Linked DNA regions of Homo sapiens: all the other regions are linked to region 1. Evidence: promoter capture Hi-C in 16 types of primary human blood cells and fetal thymus (Javierre and others, 2016). All regions are on one chromosome and are shown on one strand. Each heading gives the region's core, a stretch centred on a gene start or on the middle of the fragment in contact. The rest is flanking DNA. Distances are from core to core; before and after follow the strand shown. Region 1 holds the start of PARP8 (poly(ADP-ribose) polymerase family member 8). Region 2 has its middle 83 kb from the start of LINC02106. Region 3 has its middle 11 kb from the start of EMB. Region 4 has its middle 100 kb from the start of LINC02106. Region 5 has its middle 30 kb from the start of EMB. Region 6 has its middle 120 kb from the start of LINC02106. Region 7 has its middle 60 kb from the start of EMB.

Evidence for each region. Contacts are between HindIII fragments. The CHiCAGO score rates a contact against its expected background, and 5 or more counts as called.
Region 2: a fragment that was not itself captured here is called in contact with the fragment with the promoter of PARP8 in region 1 in 1 of 17 cell types (M0 macrophages); the score reaches 5.0 in M0 macrophages.
Region 3: a contact is called between a fragment that was not itself captured here and the fragment with the promoter of PARP8 in region 1, in 9 of 17 cell types (naive CD4 T cells, non-activated CD4 T cells, total B cells and 6 more). The highest score is 11.0, in naive CD4 T cells.
Region 4: a fragment that was not itself captured here is called in contact with the fragment with the promoter of PARP8 in region 1 in 1 of 17 cell types (M0 macrophages); the score reaches 7.2 in M0 macrophages.
Region 5: a fragment that was not itself captured here is called in contact with the fragment with the promoter of PARP8 in region 1 in 2 of 17 cell types (non-activated CD4 T cells and naive B cells); the score reaches 7.2 in non-activated CD4 T cells.
Region 6: a contact is called between a fragment that was not itself captured here and the fragment with the promoter of PARP8 in region 1, in 2 of 17 cell types (neutrophils and monocytes). The highest score is 5.6, in neutrophils.
Region 7: a contact is called between a fragment that was not itself captured here and the fragment with the promoter of PARP8 in region 1, in 2 of 17 cell types (neutrophils and total CD4 T cells). The highest score is 6.3, in neutrophils.

The regions. Positions count from the first base shown.
Region 1 is chr5:50,665,072-50,668,134 of GRCh38, reverse strand. PARP8 (poly(ADP-ribose) polymerase family member 8) reads right to left here and starts at 1,498. Exons shown (of 26, transcript NM_024615.4): 1 at 949-1,498; 2 at 10-64. The coding sequence starts at 1,039. RefSeq lists silencers at 374-703, 1,396-1,455, 1,506-1,655 and enhancers at 1-875, 311-1,223. The HindIII fragment of the contact is 4,109 bases long and covers 1-3,063 here.
Region 2 is chr5:50,885,569-50,888,631 of GRCh38, reverse strand. No RefSeq gene overlaps it. Among named protein-coding and RNA genes, the nearest start is that of LINC02106, 83 kb to the left of the region's middle. The HindIII fragment of the contact is 3,553 bases long and covers 1-3,063 here.
Region 3 is chr5:50,450,451-50,453,513 of GRCh38, reverse strand. No RefSeq gene overlaps it. Among named protein-coding and RNA genes, the nearest start is that of EMB, 11 kb to the right of the region's middle. The HindIII fragment of the contact is 531 bases long and covers 1,357-1,887 here.
Region 4 is chr5:50,868,060-50,871,122 of GRCh38, reverse strand. No RefSeq gene overlaps it. Among named protein-coding and RNA genes, the nearest start is that of LINC02106, 100 kb to the left of the region's middle. The HindIII fragment of the contact is 4,885 bases long and covers 1-3,063 here.
Region 5 is chr5:50,469,581-50,472,643 of GRCh38, reverse strand. No RefSeq gene overlaps it. Among named protein-coding and RNA genes, the nearest start is that of EMB, 30 kb to the right of the region's middle. The HindIII fragment of the contact is 1,076 bases long and covers 927-2,002 here.
Region 6 is chr5:50,848,497-50,851,559 of GRCh38, reverse strand. No RefSeq gene overlaps it. Among named protein-coding and RNA genes, the nearest start is that of LINC02106, 120 kb to the left of the region's middle. The HindIII fragment of the contact is 5,806 bases long and covers 1-3,063 here.
Region 7 is chr5:50,499,559-50,502,621 of GRCh38, reverse strand. No RefSeq gene overlaps it. Among named protein-coding and RNA genes, the nearest start is that of EMB, 60 kb to the right of the region's middle. The HindIII fragment of the contact is 5,250 bases long and covers 1-3,063 here.

The sequences.
Region 1 (3,063 bases), core at 249-2,748:
CATAAATACCTTCTGGGGCCGCCAACGTAGGTAAAAGTAAAGGTGGAGTCAGAGTATCTGAAATCTGAAACAGAAAGTCCCGTCAAAAGCTACCCCTGGAGTGGATTTGTTTTAACCCCGATCAGGACTTGAGCCCCACATTCGGTGGTGTCAGGGGAGGCCTGGCCGGGCAGAAGGCAAGGGCTAGAGGGCGGCGAGGTCCCTCTGCGCCGCGTCCGAGGGGATGCGGCGCGCCCCCGACTGGGTGCAGCGGGAGGCCGCCCCCCGCAACAAGTGCCGGGTGCCATGGCAACAGCGGGAATTTCCCGATAGGGGAGGCCGGAAGCAGCCTCAGCCGGGCTCGCGGTAGCGAAAGCAAAATCCCGGGGGAGCAAAATGGACGAAAGGCGACCCCCAGGCAGGGGCGCTGGGTGCCTTGGGAATCCGAGGAATCCCTTCTCTTTGCCAGTCGGAGGGGACTAGAGGGAGCCGAAGGGGCCGGAGATGGGCCGAGCGCTGCCCCCCGGGGGTCCTCGGCGCCGGGCGCAGCTTACAAGCGCAGCGCAGCGCAGCAGGCTCCATTCCCGGCCGCCGCCGCTCAGCCCATTGCGCAAACCAACCCCGCTCTGCCGCCGCTGCTGGAACCCAGGAAGCGTGCTTGGAGGCTTCGGGCACTACGCGGGGCTGGAAATACCACGCACTGCCCCTTCGCCTAGACCCCCGCTCCGGCCACGCGGGCTCTGCCCTCAAAGCTGGTGGCTGCCTCAGACTTGGCGGTGGGGGAGGGGAAGGGGAGAGGCTGGCGCCCCCTCCCCCTTTTGGCTCCCGCGCTCGTTGCAGCAGCTGTTGCCAAATGAACCCCAGAATGGGGACGTGCAACCCTCCACCCCACCCCCAGCCACAGACGTCGCGGTCAGAAAACTGGGAAGGGGGCGCTGGGTCCGAGGTTCTGGAAAAGCAAGAACTCACCTGCAAACAGGCAGTCCTTCTCAGCTCTGGACTTCTGGATCACGACGTCGATATCCTTCTGAATTCGCTCTTGCCTTGAACACATCCCCATTAAATAAATCCCTGGAAAAGAAGCAGCCGCTATTTCCACCCCACCCCACCCCCCTCGCACGCTTCCAGCTTTCGTAAATATTCAGTTAAAAATGAAACCTCTGGCCGAGGCAGGGGCTGAAGGCGAAGTGGTTTCGGAAGTGATCCTGGGTGAGAGAAGAGGAGGAGGAGGAGGGGGAGGAGGAGGAGGAGGGGGAGGTCGGCTTTGCATTCCCAGATGTGACCGCCCAGCTGCTGCTCGCCGCTGCTGGATTCCAATTTCCTCCCCTTCTGACAATGGATGGTGATGACACCAAGTCTCACTTTCTCCCTCACCCGCCCGGACCAACGGCCGTGGGGGCCGAGGTGCCGGGGACAGCCAGAGAGCAATCACCGGCTGGGCGGCGGGCGCCGGCGAGGGGCGAGCCCCGCTCCGGCTCACGCGCGCACACCCCTCACGGCTCGCACGCCGGCCTTCCACACCCGCGCACACTCGCGCCCGCGGGCGGCGGCAGCCGTGCCCAGGCTGCTGCAGCGCCGCCCGCCCGCCGCAGACCCTCCGCGCCCGCCGCCTAGTCACCCCGCCGGCCGCGGGCTGCCGGGGCTCGCAGAGTATTAGCCATCCCGGGCGGGAGCCGCTTCTCCCCACACCGACCTCCACTCGCGCCGGGAGCTGAGCGGTCGTGAAGACTCCCTGGGGCTCCCAGCCTTCCCTCTCCGCGCCCCTCCCCCCATCACTTTTATGAATTCGACTCCACTTTCTAAAGGAATTATAGTCTTGTGGCAAACCCAAACCGGAGTGGCTGGGAGGGGGAAAAGGGGGGAAAAGAAAATCTTTAAAAATTAAAAAAATAATAAAACGAACAAATCTTTCCTTATTGCCACATCACATAACACGGAAAAGGCCTTAAAATTACTCCAGACGTGCACCCTCCCCTTCCCTCAGTGCCTGAGTCTTTTTCCTCCAGATCGAAGTAGTTCAGCCCTTTTGGGGCGCCGTTTACGAAACACAGCCCCTTTTGAGGGACTTCCTCCTCTTGAAACTCACCAGTTCTCCCTTCCTAGGTGTTTCTGTTCATGAGAAATGGTCAGAATCAACTGGCACGTTCCAGGGTCTTCCTAAAAGATGGAAACCTGTTTGGCTTGATTTTTAAAACCACCTCCTTTGACAGTCAAGGGAAAGCTACAATCCAGGTGTTCAGAAATGAGATACTGCTCTGATTCTCACTTTCTGTTCTGCCTAAGGACACCCCAGGCTGACGTAGCTGCCCCACCTCTATATTGGTTTATGCCCTAGGAGAGGTCTCCAGCAGGCACTTTTCTTGTTGATCTTTTCTCCACTGAGAAGGCTCCCGCCAGTAGACCATGACTCCTTTTGCTTTGCATACTCAGTGCCATGTACAGTGCCTGGAATACAGGAGGGTGGCCTAAATGTTGGCTGAATGCACGAATGGTCATTTCTTGCAGCCTCTTTTCATTACCCTGTCTCATCACTTTTCTTATCAGCATAAGTGCCCAAGAGTTGCCAAACTGTTTCAGACCCTTAATCAATTTAGTTCTGATTCTGACCGTGACAACATGATGTTCAGCACGGTAGGAATGACTGCCATCCCTGAAGGAGTCTTAAGATTCTGTAGAATCAATGAAAGATCCTATGTTCTAACTCCTTTATCTTTCAGGAAACAAATTACAAAATAATTTCCTTGTCCAGTCATATTCACTATGAGTTACAAAAGGAAACATTCTGCATTATTGAGATCCACTGCAGCCTTTGATGTAGTAAAGCCACAGTCACAACAGTCTATATCTCCTGCTCAGTCCTCTCCTGAAATGCTTCCTGTTTAGGGTAGGACAGGTTCAAGCCCTTTGTCCTTCCTGGATATGTTGCTTTGTGTAGGCCCTTTGGCTGCCAAAAATGCTCTCTTCTCTTCCACATCACCACTGAGAATCATGAGTATTTCTTCTTCCATTATGTGCTTTAATTTCTCTGAAAGGCTGAAAGTCTATTAACTCACAAGAATTTATTTTATAGTTATCTAGCCACAA
Region 2 (3,063 bases), core at 253-2,752, 220 kb before region 1:
CTTAAAAGTTGTTAAGACAGCAGACCTCATGTTAAGTGCTCTTACCACAAAATAAATAAAGTTAAAAAGCAAAGAGACACAAGGAAACTTTGGAAGTGACAGATGTGCTTATTGCCTTGATTATGGTGATGGTATCCATGTGTATACATATGTCCAAATACACATTAAATATATGCAGTGAGTTTTTATTTGAAGTAGTGAAACTAAGGGAAAGAGAACATTGCATGGAGGGACATATTATTCATTAATTCATGCAGTTGGAATGAATATGAGTTATATGTATGTGTTGGGAGTGTGAGGGGCAGATGCAATGGGAAAATCAGACTGATGAAAGAATAAGAGTTCTTTTGAGGCACTGTGGAAGATGGTTCAATGGGAGCCAGTTAATTAGGGGCTTTGAAGGCTGAGTTGCAGAATTTGAAACAAGTACAAAAGGCAGAGGGGAACCATTAACAACTATGATTCATGGTGAACTTTGCATGTGATTGAGCAGGGAAGTAGGAACGCCAATGAAGTATTTTTTCCACATGGCAGATGAGAGGTGGTGAGAGTGATAGTGAGGCTGGGAAATCTCAAGCGAAGCGGAAATGAAGGATGAAAGAAAGATATTGGGAAAAGCTCTTAGGAACTCTAGATAATAACTGCTAGGTGCTAGGCATCAGCCTATTACAGTAAGGTCACTTTCAAGTAAAGAATAATATCAAAGAGCCTAGGGCTTGTCTTTATGATTCTGGAATGTCTTCATGAAAAGTAGAGTGTTATTCAATTGTTCAAATATTTCTGTGGACAAGCATTTAAGGAAGATTTGGAAACTGGGCAACATTACACACTTCTGATAATTGGTAGATTTATAATACTTACGTCAAAGGCCACCAGAAGAGAGAATACTTCATAGCTATAGAAGAGAAAGTCCTTCCATGTGCAGACAGAATCGCCAAATATGTCCTATGTTACCTAGCAAAGAAGTGATGATGCAATTATTTCACTAGAAAAGTAGATGGGCAAGGTCAATTCTTAAAAAGCTATCAGGTGGAAGAGGATTGACTGTTAGGATAGTTTTAGACATGCTTATTTTTCAATAATGCTTATTTTTCAATAATGCTTATTTTATTATGAATAAGATAAAATTGATAATAATTATGGACCCATGCTCGTTTGACAACAACAAAGCAGATTTTAGGTTAGGCATATTTGAGTACAAAAAACGGTGAACAACTAAAGCCAGATTTTTTTTTCTGGATTTTGTGAATTCACAGATGTTCAGCCACAAAACCTAATTCAGGTATAAACTAGTGCTTCTTAAAGTATATTTTTTGCTCTGGCCAAACCAAAGTTTTCTCCTGAAATTACAATGATAATTCAATCAGACACAGTGTAATGACTACATTAACATTTGGTGGGAATGTTAGGACCAGCATCAGAGTCCCCAGGGAAAATAACCCTCAGTTATTTATGGACCTAAGAGCAGGTGCTCAATTTTATCTCCTCTGAAAGCCTGCCGTTTCAGCAATTTAGCATCTCTCATCATCACAGCCACAGGGAGTTGATTAGTGTGATACTGAGGAAAAAAAAAAGATACCATCTATAGAATAATCAGTTCTATTTCTTTACTAGTGGGCAAGAGGGTAACTGCTGCTTGTCCAGCTTCATGAAGGGGAGAGGACCAAGTCACAATCATTCTTTCTACCTGCCCCTTGTCACACTCTTCTCTCCATGAGAGTCAGAGAGAGTCTGGCTGGGTAAACTGCAGCAGTCTGCTGCCTCAGCAGGAGTCTTCCTTACCTTGGGAAGTTTACAGCAGGAAGTTTACAGCAGGAACTTGGAACTTTACAGCGGGAATTTGCTTGGGAACTTTACAGCAGGAATGAACCTGAGAGTGGGCCACTGTAAAGGCCAGCTCTGGTAGACATGTTTATTGGGGGAAGTCAGATATTCATATTGCCCCAACTTTCTCTCTTATGAATCCCTCTTTTGTTAAAGAATGCATCTAGTTGACTTTTTACATCACCCCAAAACATTTCTTCTTGGGATTTATCTTTTTAAAAAAACCTCAGTATGATTATAGCATCCGTTAAAATTAGGCATGTGTGTCACCTCACTTTTAGGATTAAAATCAAAATTATGTCATGGCCTAAAAGACCTCCATGATCCAGCCACTGGCTGCTAGTCTGTGCAGCCTCATCCCCATTACTCCCTTTGTAGATCACCCTGTTCTGTCCAGACAGCTTCTTTCTGTTACCCCAGTCCCCATGCTCCTTCCCACCCCAGTACCCTACAGGGGCTCTTTTCTCATTGGGCAATGGTCTCATCTCATTTCTACCTGGCTAATTCTTCCTCACCTTTTCAGTCTGAGGTCATGCCACTTCCATAGAGGACACATTTTACTGCCAAATTCAGATTAGATTCCACTTAATATACCCTCTGATACACTATAGTTTTCCTCCATGACACTTAGCAAAATTGTTGTGACATAACAGTTATTTGGTAGTTGGGTTTTTTGTTTGTTTTTAATATCCCTCTCTCCTACACAGATGTAAGATCCTTGGGACAGGAACAGCATCTTTTCTGTTACCACCTAATCTCAGCATGGTGCTGATACATAATTAATGCTCACTAGGTATTTGGTGAATGTAGGATTTCACCAAATCCTTTCATCCCCCACCAGGACCTGAAGGAGTAGTAATATTGTTAGTATCCAACATTTTGCCACAAGTAATATGTATTTTAGTAGCACTTCTAGAAAAATGAGTTTAAGACATCATCTAAACAGTAAGATTTGCAAAGACTGTACTAGGACTGAGTCCTGACTTCAAAAGTCAGCTCTGGTCAGTTGCAGTGTGCTCATGCCTATAATCCCAACAATTTGATAGTCCAAGGAGGGAGGATCCCTTAAGGCCAGGAGTTCAAGACCATCCTGGGCTACATAGTGAGACCCTGTCTCTGCCAACAGTTTTTTTAAAATATTAGCCAGGCACAGTGGCATGAGTCTGTAGTACCAGCTACTCAGCAGGCTGAGGCAGGAGGATTTCTTGAGCCCAGGAGTTGGAAGCTACAGTGAGCTAT
Region 3 (3,063 bases), core at 373-2,872, 210 kb after region 1:
CATCCCATTACTGGGTATATACCCAAAGGACTATAAATCATGCTGCTATAAAGACACATGCACACATATGTTTATTGTGGCATTATTCACAATAGCAAAGACTTAGAACCAACCCAAATGTCCAACAATGATAGACTGGATTAAGAAAATGTGGCCCATATACACCATGGAATACTAGGCAGCCATAAAAAATGATGAGTTCATGTCCTTTGTAGGCACATGGATGAAATTGGAAATCGTCATTCTCAGTAACCTATTGCAAGAACAAAAAACCAAACACTGCATATTCTCACTCATAGGTGGGAATTGAACAATGAGAACACATGGACACAGGAAGGGGAACATCACACTCTGGGGATGGTTGTGTGGTGGGGGGATGGGGAGGGATAGCACTGGGAGATATACCTAATGCTAGATGACCAGTTAGTGGGTGCAGTGCACCAGCATGGCACATGTATACATATGTAACTAACCTGCACATTGCGCACATGTACCCTAAAACTTAAAGTATAATAATAATAAATAAAAAAAAAGAAATTGTGCTACATGTATACCATGGGATACTATGCAGCCATAAAAACAATGAGATCATGTCTTTTGTGGGAAGATGGATGGAGCTGGAAGCTACTATCCTTAGTAAACTAACACAGGAACAGAAAACAAAATATTGCTTGTTCTCACTTATATGTGGGAGCTAAATTATGAGAACTCATGAACACAAAGAAGATAACAACAGACTCTGGGGCCTATTGGAGTGTGGAGGGTGGGAGGAGGGAAAGGGGCAGAAAAAATAACTATTGGGTACTAGGCTTCATACCTGAGTGATGAAATAATCTGTACAACAAACTCTGATGACAAGAGTTTCACATGTATTCTCAAACGTGAAATAAAAGTTAAAAACAAACAAAGCTGTCATTCAAGAATAGTGTATCTAGCAAACTTATTATGAAGATGATATAAAATGTTTTCCAGGCAAAGAAAACCTGAGAGAATTCACCACTACCTGATTCATCTTACAAGAAATGCTAAGGGGAATTCTTCCTTCTGAAAGTAAAAATGGTTAATGTTCAAAAACAAAATTATGGTATAAAACATGTTGGTAAAATTACGTTCATGAATAAACTTGAGAGGTGAAGCCAGCTGGGCTTCTGGGATGGGTGGGGATTTGGAGAACTTTTCTGTCTAGCTAGAGGATTGTAAATGCACCAATCAGTATTCTCTAAAAATGGATCAATCAGCACTCTGTAAAATGGACCAATCAGCAGGATATGGGTAGGGCCAAATAAGGGAATAAAAGCTGGCCACCCGAGCCAGCAGTGGCAACCCACTCAAGTTCCCTTCCATGCTGTGCAAGCTTTGTTCTTTTGCTCTTCATAATAAATCTTGCTGCTGCTCACTGTGTCCGCACTACCTGTATGAGCTGTAACACTCACTGTAAGGGTCTGTGGCTTCATTCCTGAAGTCAGCATGAACACGAACCCACCAGAAGGAATAACTCTGGATACACCACCTTTAAGAGCTGTGACACTCACTGTGAGGTCCGCGGCTTCATTCTTGAAGTCAGCGAGACCAAGAACCCACTAGAAGGAATAAACTCAGGACACACCTTGCCGACCCAGATGGGACTTTCACCAAGTGATGGGAAACACTCAGACACCAACAGGCCCACCCTTGCAATGCATCCTAAGCCATTGGGACCAATTTGACCAGCAAACCCTGAAAAAGAGGTGGCTCATTTTTTTTGGCAATATGGCCTGGCCCCAATATCATCTCTCTGATGGGGAAAAATGGCCACCTGAGGGAAGTACAAATTACAATACTATCCTGCAGCTTGACCTTTTCTGTAAAAGGGAAGGCAAATGGAGTGAAATATCTTATATCCAAGCTTTCTTTTCATTGAAGGAGAATCCACAACTATGCAAATCTTCTAATTTATATCCCACAAGAGGACCTGTCAGCTTACCCCCATATCCTAGCTTCCCTATAGCTCCCCTTCCTATTAATGATAAGCCTCCTCTAATATCCCTGCCCAGAAGGAAACAAGGAAAGAAATCTCCAAGTGACCACAAAAACCCCCAGGCTATCAGTTATGTCCTCTTTAAGCTGTAGGGAGTGGGGAATTTGGCCCAACCTGGGTACATGTCCTCTTCTCCCTCTCTGATTTAAAGCAGATCAAGGCAGACCTGGGGAAGTTTTCAGATGATCCTGATAGGTATATAGATGTCCTACAGGGTCTAGGGCAAACATTCAATCCCACCTGGAGAGATGTCATGCTATTAGATCAAACCCTGGCCTTTAATGAAAAGAATGCGGCTTTAGCTGCAGCCTGAGAGTTTGAAGATACCTGGTATCTTAGTCAAGTAAATGATAGAGTGACAGACGAAGAAAGGGACAAATTCCCTACCAGTCAGCAAGCCATCCCCAGTATGGATCCCCACTGGGACCTAGACTCACATCATTGGGACTGGAGTCACAAACATCTGTTGATCTGTGTTCTAGAAGGACTAAGGAGAATTAGAAAAAAGCCCATGAATTATTCAATGAAGTCCACCATAACTCAGGGAAAGGAAGAAAATCCTGCTTTCCTTGAGTGGCTACAGGAGACCCTAAGAAAATATACTCCCCTGTCACCTGACTCCCTCGAGGGTCAATTGACCCTAAAAGATAAGTTTATTACCCAATCAGCCGCAGATATCAGGAGAAAGCTCCAAAAGCGAGCTCTGAGCCCTGAACAAAATCTGGAGGCATTATTAAACCTGGCAACCTTAGTGTTCTATAATAGGGACCAAGAGGAACAGGCTGAAAAGGAAAAGTGAGATCAGAGAAAGGCCACAGCCTTAGTCATGGCCCTCAGACAAACCTTGGTGGTTCAGACAGGACAGAAAATGGAGCAGGCCAATCACCTGTTAGGGCTTGTTATCAGTGTGGTTTGCAAGGACACTTTAAAAAAGATTGTCCAATGAGAAACAAGCCGCCCCCTCACCCATGTCCATTATGCCAAGGCTATCACTGGAAGGCTCATTGTCCCAGAGGACAAAGGTTCTCTGGGTCAGAAATCCCCAA
Region 4 (3,063 bases), core at 313-2,812, 200 kb before region 1:
CATGGCTGTACAACAGATTGTCTGACATTGCTACCTTTATTAGATGCTTAGCAGTGGTTAACTTACAGCAAGAACATGAGCGGTGCCCTTGGACAGAGTGTCACAATGAGTTGCCACCACTGTATTGTAAAATCCACTTTTGACGGCTAATTTTATATTTATGTCAACTTGGCTAGGCTATGATGCCCACTTGTTTGGTTAAATGCCAGTCTAGATGTTGCTGTGAAGGTATATTTTAGATGTGACTAAAATTTACATCAGTAGACTTTGAGTAAAGCAGATTGCCCTCCAATCAATTGAAGGCCTTAAGAGGTCCTTTGAAGAGAGAAGGATTTCTGCCTCAGTCTGTCTTTGGACTCACGACTACAATATCAGTTCTTCTTGAGATCTCCAGCCTGCCAGCCTGCCTTGTACGTTTTGCACTTGCCAGCCCTCACATTCATGTGAGCCAATTTCTTAAAAGAAATCAATCTCTCTCTCTCTCTCTACACACACACACACACACACACACACACATGCACCTTATTGATTCTGTTTCTCTGTAAAGCCCTGACTTATATAACACCAAACTTAGCTGATATCTACTTTCAATCTAGCTTCTTCCTCTGATTAAGAGTGAATGATTCTTTCCAAATATAGAAGCCAATAAGCTGATGTGTTGTCAATGGCTTCCACTTGAGTTACTTCACTCCAAAATATTATTATTATTACATAAATCAAAACAAATCAGAACAGTAGCACTGAATACACGGTGACCTCTGGGATACAGAAGAGTGTTACTTCATACTAGGACAAAGGGAAAAGCTCTTCCAGGTTCCTGTGATAACACCACTCCTGCTACATCCCAGATTTAACATCCCAGTGTTTATATGGAGAGAAAAATGAGACCCCACTGGACAACATCCATCGTTGCTACCTAGTGAGGATTTCACCAAAAACATAGGAAAGCAAAAGTCTTATTTAAAACTCTACTTCTCTAAAGCAAGAAACATTTTTCTTGTGACCTTTTCAATTGATGGAATATTCAGTTGGATACACCTCATCTTTTCATTCTCTAGATTGCATTTCCTTAGAACAATGAAGAAGAGGAGCAATGTGGAAAGAAAGGGTGATGCCTGACATATAGCAGCAGATTGGCCAAAGGAAGGTAGGAATTCTGTGAAGGAGAGGAAGAGTGAAAAGAGAAAATAAAACTGGGAAATCAAGATAAAGCTGTAAAAGGGAAGCAGTAATTCATTTCCATTCCAAATCTAGACCCTTGTAAGAATTTGCAAAATTTGAAGTAGTTTTGTTTTGTTTTGTGTCTGATCAGCAATTGAGACCATATTTTTTCCTTTCAAAATAGAGCCATCAGTGTTGTTATAATCTCCAAACTATGCAAATAAATGGTCGGGTGAATTTCATTTCACCAAGTAAGGGTTGATGCTGAAATTTACTTCAGGCAGAGAAGTTAGATGCATAAGGATATGTCAAATTCTCCAGGGGCTTGTGATGAATTCTTAGAGTGTGAAGCTGCTCCCCGCTGTTGTTTGTAGATAAGGACTTTTCAAAGTGGTCTGTGGATTTGAGAAATAAAGTAAATGGAAAATTTCTCCAAGTAGGGCATATTTCTGATGACTAAGATGAGTACATTATATCTGTTCCAAGCTAAGTCAATAATGAATTGTTCCCAGATAAGCATACAAAAATGGGTTATATGTAAATTAGAGAAGAAGGAGCTGACATTAATTAACTAATTTAGTTCACTATAGAACTGGTCCAAAGAAACAAACAAAAAACTCCCAAAATACCCCTCAAAATAACTGACTGCGGTAGCATGACTTTCATCAAGTGATTTCATTAAGGTCACCAATAAATGCAGGACACGACGAACTCATTCTAGTTTCTGTGGAACAGCAAACAGTGTGGATTCTGAATTCCATAGTGCTGTTTATCTTTCACGTTTTCTTGTTTTCATGATTCAAGTGAAAAAACTGAGCACTCATTAAATGATAGGAAAATCAAACTGTAGAGTAGGTCATAAATTTGGACAGAACTGGATTAGAAAGCACATCTTGAAAGAGGCATCACTGTGACTGATGAGAAAAATCTCTTAAAATCTTTGTAAATCATTTTTCATTGAATATTTTTAAACCTTATGATCTTGTTTTTAACAAAATCGTGACGGGTTTTAAAAGGGTCTCAAAAGCTAGGCATTTAAATGGTAGCTTTCCTAATTCCAGAGAAATTGAATTCAAAAAATAATTTACCTGGAATTGAAATCAGCATAGAATGTCCCTGTTTTGCCTCCTTCCGTGGTAAACCTATGACAGTAGGATCATGCATTTTTCTTTATATTTTAAAACTATAAATATTTGAAAATGCTAGAGCTTTTCAAAGTATAATCAAAACTATAAAATGGAAGTGAAAATGGATAGACTTTCTCTCATGAAAATGGTAATTATAGCTTACTTGAAACTTATTTCACATGAAATATATAAAATGCTTATACAAGAAAAGAGAGGGAGGAGAGAGCTAGATTCCTGGGGAAGAAGATGAAAAGTGGGCCAGAAATGAAAACAGACATGGTCTACCTAAGAGAATTGTTTCTCCAGGAAATACTTCCTTTTGTAAAAATATATTCCTAGACCGCTTCCTAGAACTGGAAAGAAATCCACTCTCCTGAATGTAAAACAAGGAACCCAGGTGATGAGTCAAAATCCTTGCATTATGGCTGTCTCTTTATCGCTAGTGAATCGACATGGGTTGTTCCACATCTGTAGGCCTCAGTTTTTTAAGTTGTCAAATGGAGAGAACATCTTGTCTAAATATTTTATTGAGTCGAGGAAAAGAAAACTGAAATGCTATACATGAAAGACTCCTTAAAGTAAAAATAAAAAAACTGCTTGATTGCAATATTTTATTGCTTTGATTCCTCTACTTCAATAGTTTGTTTAGATCTTACAGGTTTTTTTTTTTTTCATTCCCAATCTCAACAGCAAAGCGAACGTTTCATAAACTCCAGTGGAGAAAAGAAACCTCCTCTGACATGCTCCTGAATTTGTTACTCAGTCGTGTTCTACC
Region 5 (3,063 bases), core at 215-2,714, 200 kb after region 1:
ACTACTTAAGCTAGCCTCTGACAGTCACACAAGCACCCATTTAACACCCTTATTCATCAGTTAACATGAAGAGAAAATGGGCTCTGAGGATTTTCCAGTTTTGCTAATATAGGTGATAATAAAGGCCTCTGATTTTTGTGAGTTGCAGTGATTTCAAGGTTCACTTCCTGATACAAAAAGGCTTGGTGCTTTCTGTAGGATAATTTATTTTTATTTTTATTTTTATTTTTTTCTTTTTTTGGCCTCCCAGGTTCAAGCAATTCTCCTGCCTCAGCCTCCCGAGTAGCTGGGACTACAGTCATGTGCTACCACGCCCAGCTAATTTTTGTATTTTTAGTAGAGATGGGGTTTCACCATGTTGGCCAGGATGGTATTGATCTCTTGACCTCATGATCCTCCCACCTCAGCCTCCCAACGTGCTGGGATTACAGGCATGAGACAATGCACCTGGTCGATAATTTTAATATTTTTGGATTCCTGGCATCTTATGCTTGGTGGACGCAATGGCTACAGTGGTAATATACTCTTTAGGTCAGTTTTTTGTTTGTTTGTTTTTTTAAATGTAGTTTTACAATGTTGATCTTGGCTATGTAGAATTATTTTCTTCTCTAGCCCATATGATGATTTGTTTTCTTGTCTGGCTAAACTTGCCAGAATGGATTGTCTTCTTTGCTATTAACAGTCACAAGTGACATGGTAGTATGTAGGTAGTGAAAGAAGAAGGACATCCACAAAATTAAATGTGGGATTATTCTAGGGGCATAGTGGAACTTCTTCATCAAAGAGAAAGGCCAGGATGATACAGCTAATGGCATTTGAAAGCATGTAATGACCAGGCAACTAATTCAAATATCATTTAGAATGAAGTGTCATTGATGGGAAGGCCTTAGATTTCAAGTGCTGCTAAGGGTGGAACTTGCTAAGCTTGAGAATTCAAGGACTGTGAGATTGTCTGCTTATTTCCAACTGTGCTGGAGAGCCTAAAGAAGAGTATGATCATGTAAAGTTCTGAAATCTTGGCTAAAGTCAGTGTTAGAAAAACAAAAGTTTCCATCTAATGCTGAATAATATTTTGTCATTTGCAGCTTCAAAACTTAAAGTAACTAATAATCAAACTAAAAGATTTAACTTTGGAGTTTTTGCATTATACAGAGTTGAATTTGAATACTCTGTAGTTCTCTTATGTGAAAGGAAATGTATTTACTGAGAGAGAGTTGGGCTGTGAAAATTGGAATGGGCACATATGGGAGGCAGTTCCAAGATGGTAGAATAGGAACAGCTCTAGTCTACATCTAGCCCCCAGCATGAGTGATGCAGAAGACAGGTGATTTCTGCATTCCCAACTGAGGTACAGGGGTTCATCTCACTGGAGTTCATTGGCAGTGGGGGCGGGACAGTGGGTGCAGCCCATCAAGTGTGAGCTGAAGCAGCATGAGGCATTGCCTCACCCGGGAAGTGCAAGGGGTCAGGGAATTCCCTTTCCTAGCCAAGGGAGGGGGTGACAGACGGCACCTGGAAAATTGGGTCACTCCCTGCACTTTTCCAATGGTCTTAGCAAGTGGCACACCAGGAGATTATATCCCCCGCCTGGCTTGGAGGGTCCCATTCCCATGGAGCCTCACTCATTGCTAGCACAGCAGTCTGAGATCAAACTGCAAGGTGGCAGTGAGGCTGGGGGAGGGGCACCCGCCATTGCTGAGGCTTGAGTAGGTAAATAAAGCCCACCACAGCTCAAGGAGGCCTGCATGCCTCTGTAGAATCCACCTCTGAGGACAGGGCATAGCTGTACAAAAGGCAGCAGAAACTTCCGCAGACGTAAAGGTCCCTATCTGACAGTTTTGAAGAGAGTAGTGGTTCTCCCAGCATGCAGCTGGAGATCTGAGAACAGACAGACTGCCTCCTCAAGTGGCACCCGGACCCCCAAGTAGCCTAACTGGGAGGCACCCCCTAGTAGGGGCAGACTGCCACCTCACACAACCAGGTACCCCTCTGAGATGAAGCTTCCAGAGGAAAGATCAGGCAGCAACATTTGCAGTTCAGCAATATTCTCTGTTCTGCAGCCTCCACTGCTGATACCCAGGCAAACACGGTCTGGAGTGGACATCCAGCAAACTCCAACAGACCTGCAGCTGAGTGTTCTGACTGTTAGAAGGAAAACTGACAAACAGAAAGGACATCCACACCAAAACCCCATCTGTACATCACCATCATCAAAGAACAAAGGTAGATAAAACCACAAAGGTGGGGAAAAAACAGAGCAGAAAAGCTGAAAATTCTAAAAATCAGAGCACATTTCCCCCTCCAAAGGAATGCAGCTCCTCTCCAGTAATGGAACAAAGCTGGATGGAGAATGACTTTGATGAGATGAGAGAAGAAGTCTTCAGATGATGAAACTTCTCTGAGCTAAAGGAGGAAGTTTGAACCCAATGCAAAGAAGTTAAAAACATTAAAAAAGATTAGATGGATGGCGAATTAGAATAACCAGTGTAGATAAGTCCTTAAACGACCTGATGCAGCTGAAAACCATGGCAAGAGAACTACGTGATGAATGCACAAGCTTCAGTAGCTGATTCGATGAACTGGAAGAAAGGGTATCAGTGATTGAAGATCAAATGAATGAAATGAAGTGAGAAGAGAAGTTCTGAGATAAAAGAGTAAAAAGAAGTGAACAAAGCCTCCAAGAAATATAAGACTATGTGAAAAGACCAAATCTTCGTCTGATTGGTGTACCTGAACGTGATGGGGAGAATGGAACCAAGCTGGAAAACACTCTTCAGGATATTATCTAGGAGAACTTCCCCAACCTAGCAAGGCAGGCCAACATTCAAATTCAGGAAATACAGAGAATGCCACAAAGACACTCCTCAAGAAGAGCAACTCCAAGACACATAATTGACAGATTCACCAAAGTTGAAATGAAGGAAAAAATGTTAAGGGCAGCCAGAGAGAAAGGTCCGGTTACCCACAAAGGGAAGCCCATCAGACTAACAATGGATCTCATGGGAGAAACTCTACAAGCCAGAAGAGAGTGGGGGCCAACATTCAACATTCTTAAAGAAAAGA
Region 6 (3,063 bases), core at 335-2,834, 180 kb before region 1:
TACTACTAACTGAAATGTAAAATGCTATTTAATTACAAGGTTTTAAAAAGTTAAACGCTGAATATTTAACAGGTTAAACTTTCAGAATTAAGTATAACATTAACAGAGAGAAATTGTTAGTTGTGGTAGAGCATTATGTTCAGGAATGCAATTTTTTACAAAAAGAGCCCTAGAAATAGTGATAGCTATAAATCAGTGCTCCAGGAGAGCTACAAAATGTTTCAGGTATTTGGAGCAGAGAGAGATCTTTTATGGCTAGATGAAAAGTACAAGTATTCATGTACTCAGGGGTACATGAACTTGACCTTGAATTATGGGTAGATTTGCAACAGGCAGCAACTCAAAGAAAAAGAATCCAAATAATACACTACAGAAAACTATTCCACTCCTGAGCTGCTGTTATTAGAACTAGAAAATTGACTATGCTGTAAGCCTACAACTATTAAGAAATATGTATCCCAGAAGTTAACCAGGAAACACATAAAGAATAGAAATGTTCCCAATTTCAGGGCAGCAAAAATTAAGTTAGAGGTTGACAGAGAAAAATGTGTAATAAAATTCAAGTTAGTTACAATTTATACTATGTTAGAAGAATGCAATTCCCTTGGAAGAAACTGTATTTTCCCATTGACTTATAGTTACAGATGTGCTTAATTCCATCACTGATTTATTATTACTAGTAATGAATATTAGTACTATAGCTTAAAGTAGCTCTCTTTCTTGTATGTCAAGTAGTTAATGACCTGTAAATGAACTCAAGTATGTTAGGGAAGCTCATTATTTAAGGTAATTATTTAGCAAAGCAATGATCCTTTGGTTATGCAAATTACTGACATTAAGTTATAAATTTGTAAGTATCTAGTTTTATGTTTCATTCTGGGCCCTCAAAGCGACCTTCCAATCCAGGTATTGCTTGCTCTAAAGTTAAAATGCAAATATATACTTCAAGAGTAAGAGAGAGTGTAGATGTTGCCAACATTATGAGGTTCCTACATTTTCCTGCAGGTGATAGAGCTGGAAATGATGCCCAGGATGATAGTGATGATGGTGATCAGAACAGTGATAGCCTTGGCTTGACATGTCCCCACCATGGGTATTTATTTAGATGTATGAATCTAGTATGTACCAATAGAAGACATATCTAAGATTTTCAGCTTTAATGCCACTTTATTTGAAGACTGTTTTTCTCAGATAGACATTTGTAATATTGTGTATGTGTACACCCACTTAAGTCCCAAACATTTAGTCGGTACTGGAAATAATCTGTGCATGGTGGTATGGAGGAAGGGTAGCCGGGTTGGGGGGAAAAAGCAGGCAAATCAATAAACATTTTCAACACTGTGTGCTAAGTGAAATAGATGAACTATGGCCAGATACTTGGAAAAGATCTAGAAGGACCATTTGGTTTAGACTGGGAATAAGTTGAGAGTCAAAAGAAGTATAAATTGGAAATGGTGACTGGGGCAGAAAGAAAAAGCAAGTGAGAGGTGGGAAGCAATGGGCTGTTCTTGGAACTGCCAAGAATTCAGTGGGGTTGCAATGCTGAGTGTAAGGTGGTGGTGGAAAATGAGGCTGGAGAGGGATGAGAGGGAAGCAGGGGCTTGACCATGAAGGGTCATGTGTGAAAGGTTTGATGAGAAATTTTTACTGAGTGAGAAACTGGGAGATATTGAAGGGATTTTAAACAAAGGAATTACAAAATTGGATTTTCATTTCAGTAAGATCACTTTAGCTTCAGCATTAAGAGAGGGCAAAGGGTCAGGAAGGAGGTAGAGCCAGTCATAGCCTATTTAGCAGGGGGCAAAGTACAGGAGGAAGGTCCGTCCTCTGTGTGTTAAGCTAACATTTTTGTTGCTGCATCTGGGCAATATGGGGCTGGATGTCTATTTACTAACATACAGAGGCATTCAGTATTTTACCAATCGTAAGTGTACTATGTGCTAGCTGAATTTGTTCCCGGTAAAGGGTACTGGATTAAGTCAAGGATACTGCTATAACCTACATGAATGTTAGCAAAGGAAGTCACAGGAGAGAACGAGGTTGTTGAACACATCATCAAGACACTCAACAAGAAAAATTAACAAGGCTTAGCTATTGATTGGAGGATGGGACTGGGTGAAAGGGAAGGGGATAGGGGATAATTTCTCTTCTCACTTGGGCAAACAGGTGGAAGGTGTGGCCATTCTTTGGTTCGTTGATAACAGTGCAAGAAGAGGAGTAGAATGGTGGGGGGTGGGGACATTTGTTAGAGTTTGTTTGAGGTGTCCCGGGAACATTCAGGAAGAGATGTTTGTTTGGAGGTATTTGATCATGTAATTTTGAAGCTCAAGGGAAAGATCAAAGAAGAGCTGCAGATTTAAGAGTCATCAGACTCATCAGACTACAGGTCAGAGTTGGAGCCATTCACAGTGGGTTGTGTCTTTCAAGTTGAGTGTAAAGAATAGGATGCCACCATTCTGGGTGGTGAGTCCTAAGTGTTCCCCAGGCTAAAATGCCTCTCTCTCTCTCTCTCTCTCTCTCTCTCTCACACACACACACACACACACACACACACACACACGATAGATCTTGGAAATAATAAATCACATTAAAACAGAAAGGAGATTTACTGCACTACTGCAACCATTCTCTTACAGATCTCAGTATTTAGTAAGCCTGGTTTTACAGGTGTAGGGGAGATTTGTTCTCAAACATGTCTCCATGTGATTCAGAATACTCCTTCTCTCTTCTTTCCCTTCACATGGCTGAATATGTGCTCACAGGCTTCTTAGTGTAGAGCCAGCATAGCCAAGTCATTTGTCTTCAGTCAGTCCTTCTCGGAATACTAAATGCTATGGGAGAATCTTAATCGATCTCCAATAAAAAATCAAGAGGGAAATTATTCTCAATTTATATTATAAATTGGATCTCGTTTCCTACTTCTTTTTCCTAAATATTCTCTTACTGTTTCTTATATCCATCCTTTTTCTCAGTCCTTCTTCTCTTAAGTCTTCATTCCTGTCAGAATTACTACAAGAGATACCTAATATTTCTTCTTGCTTTCTGCCTCCCTCTCAGAAATCC
Region 7 (3,063 bases), core at 376-2,875, 170 kb after region 1:
GTATGTGCATTTGTGTAGGACTTGAAATGAATTTATGTATTTTAGGGCAATCTCATGTGCTTTCCAGGCCATGAGGGCATTACTGTTCTGTTCTTTGAAATTTTCTGAATACTCTTTTCTGCAGACAAAATGGGATTGAGGAAAATACTCTAGACAAAGTACAATAAAGCATTTTAGAGACCAATTATAATTTAGTCCAGTAAAAGGTAGAAAATAGATAACTACAAATAATCCTAAAACCTGATGTGCAGTAGTATGTGATTATTTTAATATAATGCTGATGAAATTCCCCATTAGATGGGAATATAGGGAAAATACCATTTTGTATTCCAAATACATTTATATACAATGCAGAATGTAGCAGTATAGCTATTTGATGGATATATGTAATATTGAAAGTTAAATATTGTAATTTTGATAAAATAGTTTTGCATTTACTTCCCTTAAATTTAGTATTAGATATATAAAGTGCAGAGCCTACCTAATAGGGAATAATCAGTAATTGCATATATGACACACACATGCTTGAGCACACACACACGCTTGAGCACACACACACACACACACACTTCCACAGTGTAAGAGCCAGGCTGTATTTGCAACCTTGGGAAATTTAAACTACAGAGAAAAACGTGGCTGTTTCTTTCAAGTAAACAATAATTGTGAGTGCAGAGAGGCTAATCCAGTCAGGTACTAATGCTCATGAAATTGTGTAGAAAGTGAAAAGAATAGTGTAAATTATGGAATAAAGCAAATTCAACTAAAGAGCTTATTTAGTAACAGATTATCAAGAGTCCATCTTCTCTTCTGCTTTTCTCTTTCTCTTCCTTTGTATATAAAAGATGTTGCCTATCTTCCCATCTACAAACTTGAGTTATTTAGAGAAGTGAAACTGAAAGGCAGAAGTCTAGAATTTCCTCAAGGAGTAATATCTCATTTCAAACTATGCCACTTCAAAGATAAATGACTGTTGAAATAGGAAACATAAGTAGTGTAAGGCCTTCAATGGGTAAAATCAGTTATTTGAAATTACTCTAGAAGTTGCAAAATACTTTAGCTTCTAAGATGAGATAAGGGCTAATTAAGAATTTTTTTGCTATATATTTATGGAGCTACTTCTGGTAATACTTTAAAGTAAAAATGTTTAACTTTTAATATCACATTTTTTACGTTTTCTAAAGTTTTATTGTTTCATTCTTACTGAAATTAAAACATTCTTTAAAGAAATGTTTTATTTACTAAAAATAAAGATTCTGCAAAAAACTTATAGATAGCATATATAGTAATCATAAGCAAAAGACAAATTTTAGTTCTGCCAACCTGAGAAAAATTTAAATTAGCCTTCCAAAAGTATTCATTTTCAGTTTTAGAGAAAAAGTTGAATAAGTAAATGGATGTATGTATGCATATGTTTGTGTATGTGTGCCAGTGTGTATACCCAAAATGTCTCTGTGTTTTAGTGCTCACTCTCAAATATATGATATGAATCGTCCAGCGACATATTTAACTCTATACATGAGTAACTTTAATATCTTTCTTTGAAATCTTTTGAATAATATCTAATAAATATAGAAATTCAATGCATGTTTATTACTTATGCATTATAATCTTTTAAATATTAATGTTCCAAATAATCTATATTAATAAATGCTGGATGAAAGAATGCATCTCTTGGGAATCAACACATGTGAACTATTAGTCATCATTTGTCACTTTCAAATAACGTTATTCCATTCTCTAAATCAGTGGCTTCCAAAGTGATTTGTATGTATTTCAGGGGATGTTCCAGAATGTTGTCTACAGGGCAAGAAAAAAAATAGAATTTGCATTTGGATGTATTTTTATATAAAAAATACAAAGTAAGTCTTTAGTAGTTAATTTAAATTTTTTTTCTTTTTTAAATTATATTTTAAGTTTTAGGGTACATGTGCACAACGTGCAGGTTAGTTACATATGTATACATGTGCCATGTTGGTGAGCTGCACCCATTAACTCGTCATTTAAAATTAGGTATATCTCCTACTGCTATCCCTCCCCCTTCCCCCCACCCCACAACAGCCCCGGTGTGTGATGTTCCCCTTCCTGTGTCCATGTGTTCTCATTGTTCAATTCCCACCTATGAGTGAGAACATGTGGTGTGTGGTTTTTTGTCCTTGCGATAGTTTGCTGAGAATGATGGTTTCCAGCTTCATCCATGTCCCTACAAAGGACATGAACTCATCATTTTTTATGGCTGCATAGTATTCCATGGTGTATATGGGCCACATTTTCTTAATCCAGTCTATCATTGATGGACATTTGGGTTGGTTCCAAGTCTTTGCTATTGTGAATAGTGCCGCAATAAACATACGTGTGCATGTGTCTTTATGGCAGCATGATTTATAATCCTTTGGGTATATACCCAGTAATGGGATGGCTGGGTCAAATGGTATTTCTAGTTCTAGATCCCTGAGGAATCGCCACACTGACTTCCACAAAGGTTGAACTAGTTTACAGTCCCACCAACAGTGTAAACGTGTTCCTATTTCTCCACATCCTCTCCAGCACCTGTTGTTTCCTGATTTTTAACGATCACCATTCTAACTGATGTGAGATGGTATCTCATTGTGGTCTTGATTTGCATTTCTCTGATGGCCAGTGATGATGAACATTTTTTCATGTGTCTTTTGGTGGCAATAAATGTCTTCTTTTGAGTAGTGTCTGTTCATATCCTTCGCCCACTTTTTTATGGGTTTGTTTTTTTCTTGTAAATTTGTTTGAGTTCATTGAAGATTCTGGATATTAGCCCTTTGTCAGATGAGTAGATAGCAAAAATTTTCTCCCATTCTGTAGGCTGCCTGTTCACTCTGATGGTAGTTTCTTTTTTGTGAAGAAGCTCTTTAGTTTAATTAGATCCCATTTGTCAATTTTGGCTTTTGTTGCCATTGCTTTTGGTGTTTTAGACATGAAGTCCTTGCCCATGCCAATGTCCTGAATGGTAATGCCTAGGTTTTCTTCTAGGGTTTTTATGGTTTTAGGTCTAATGTTTAAGTCTTTAATCCATCTTGAATCAATCTTTGTATA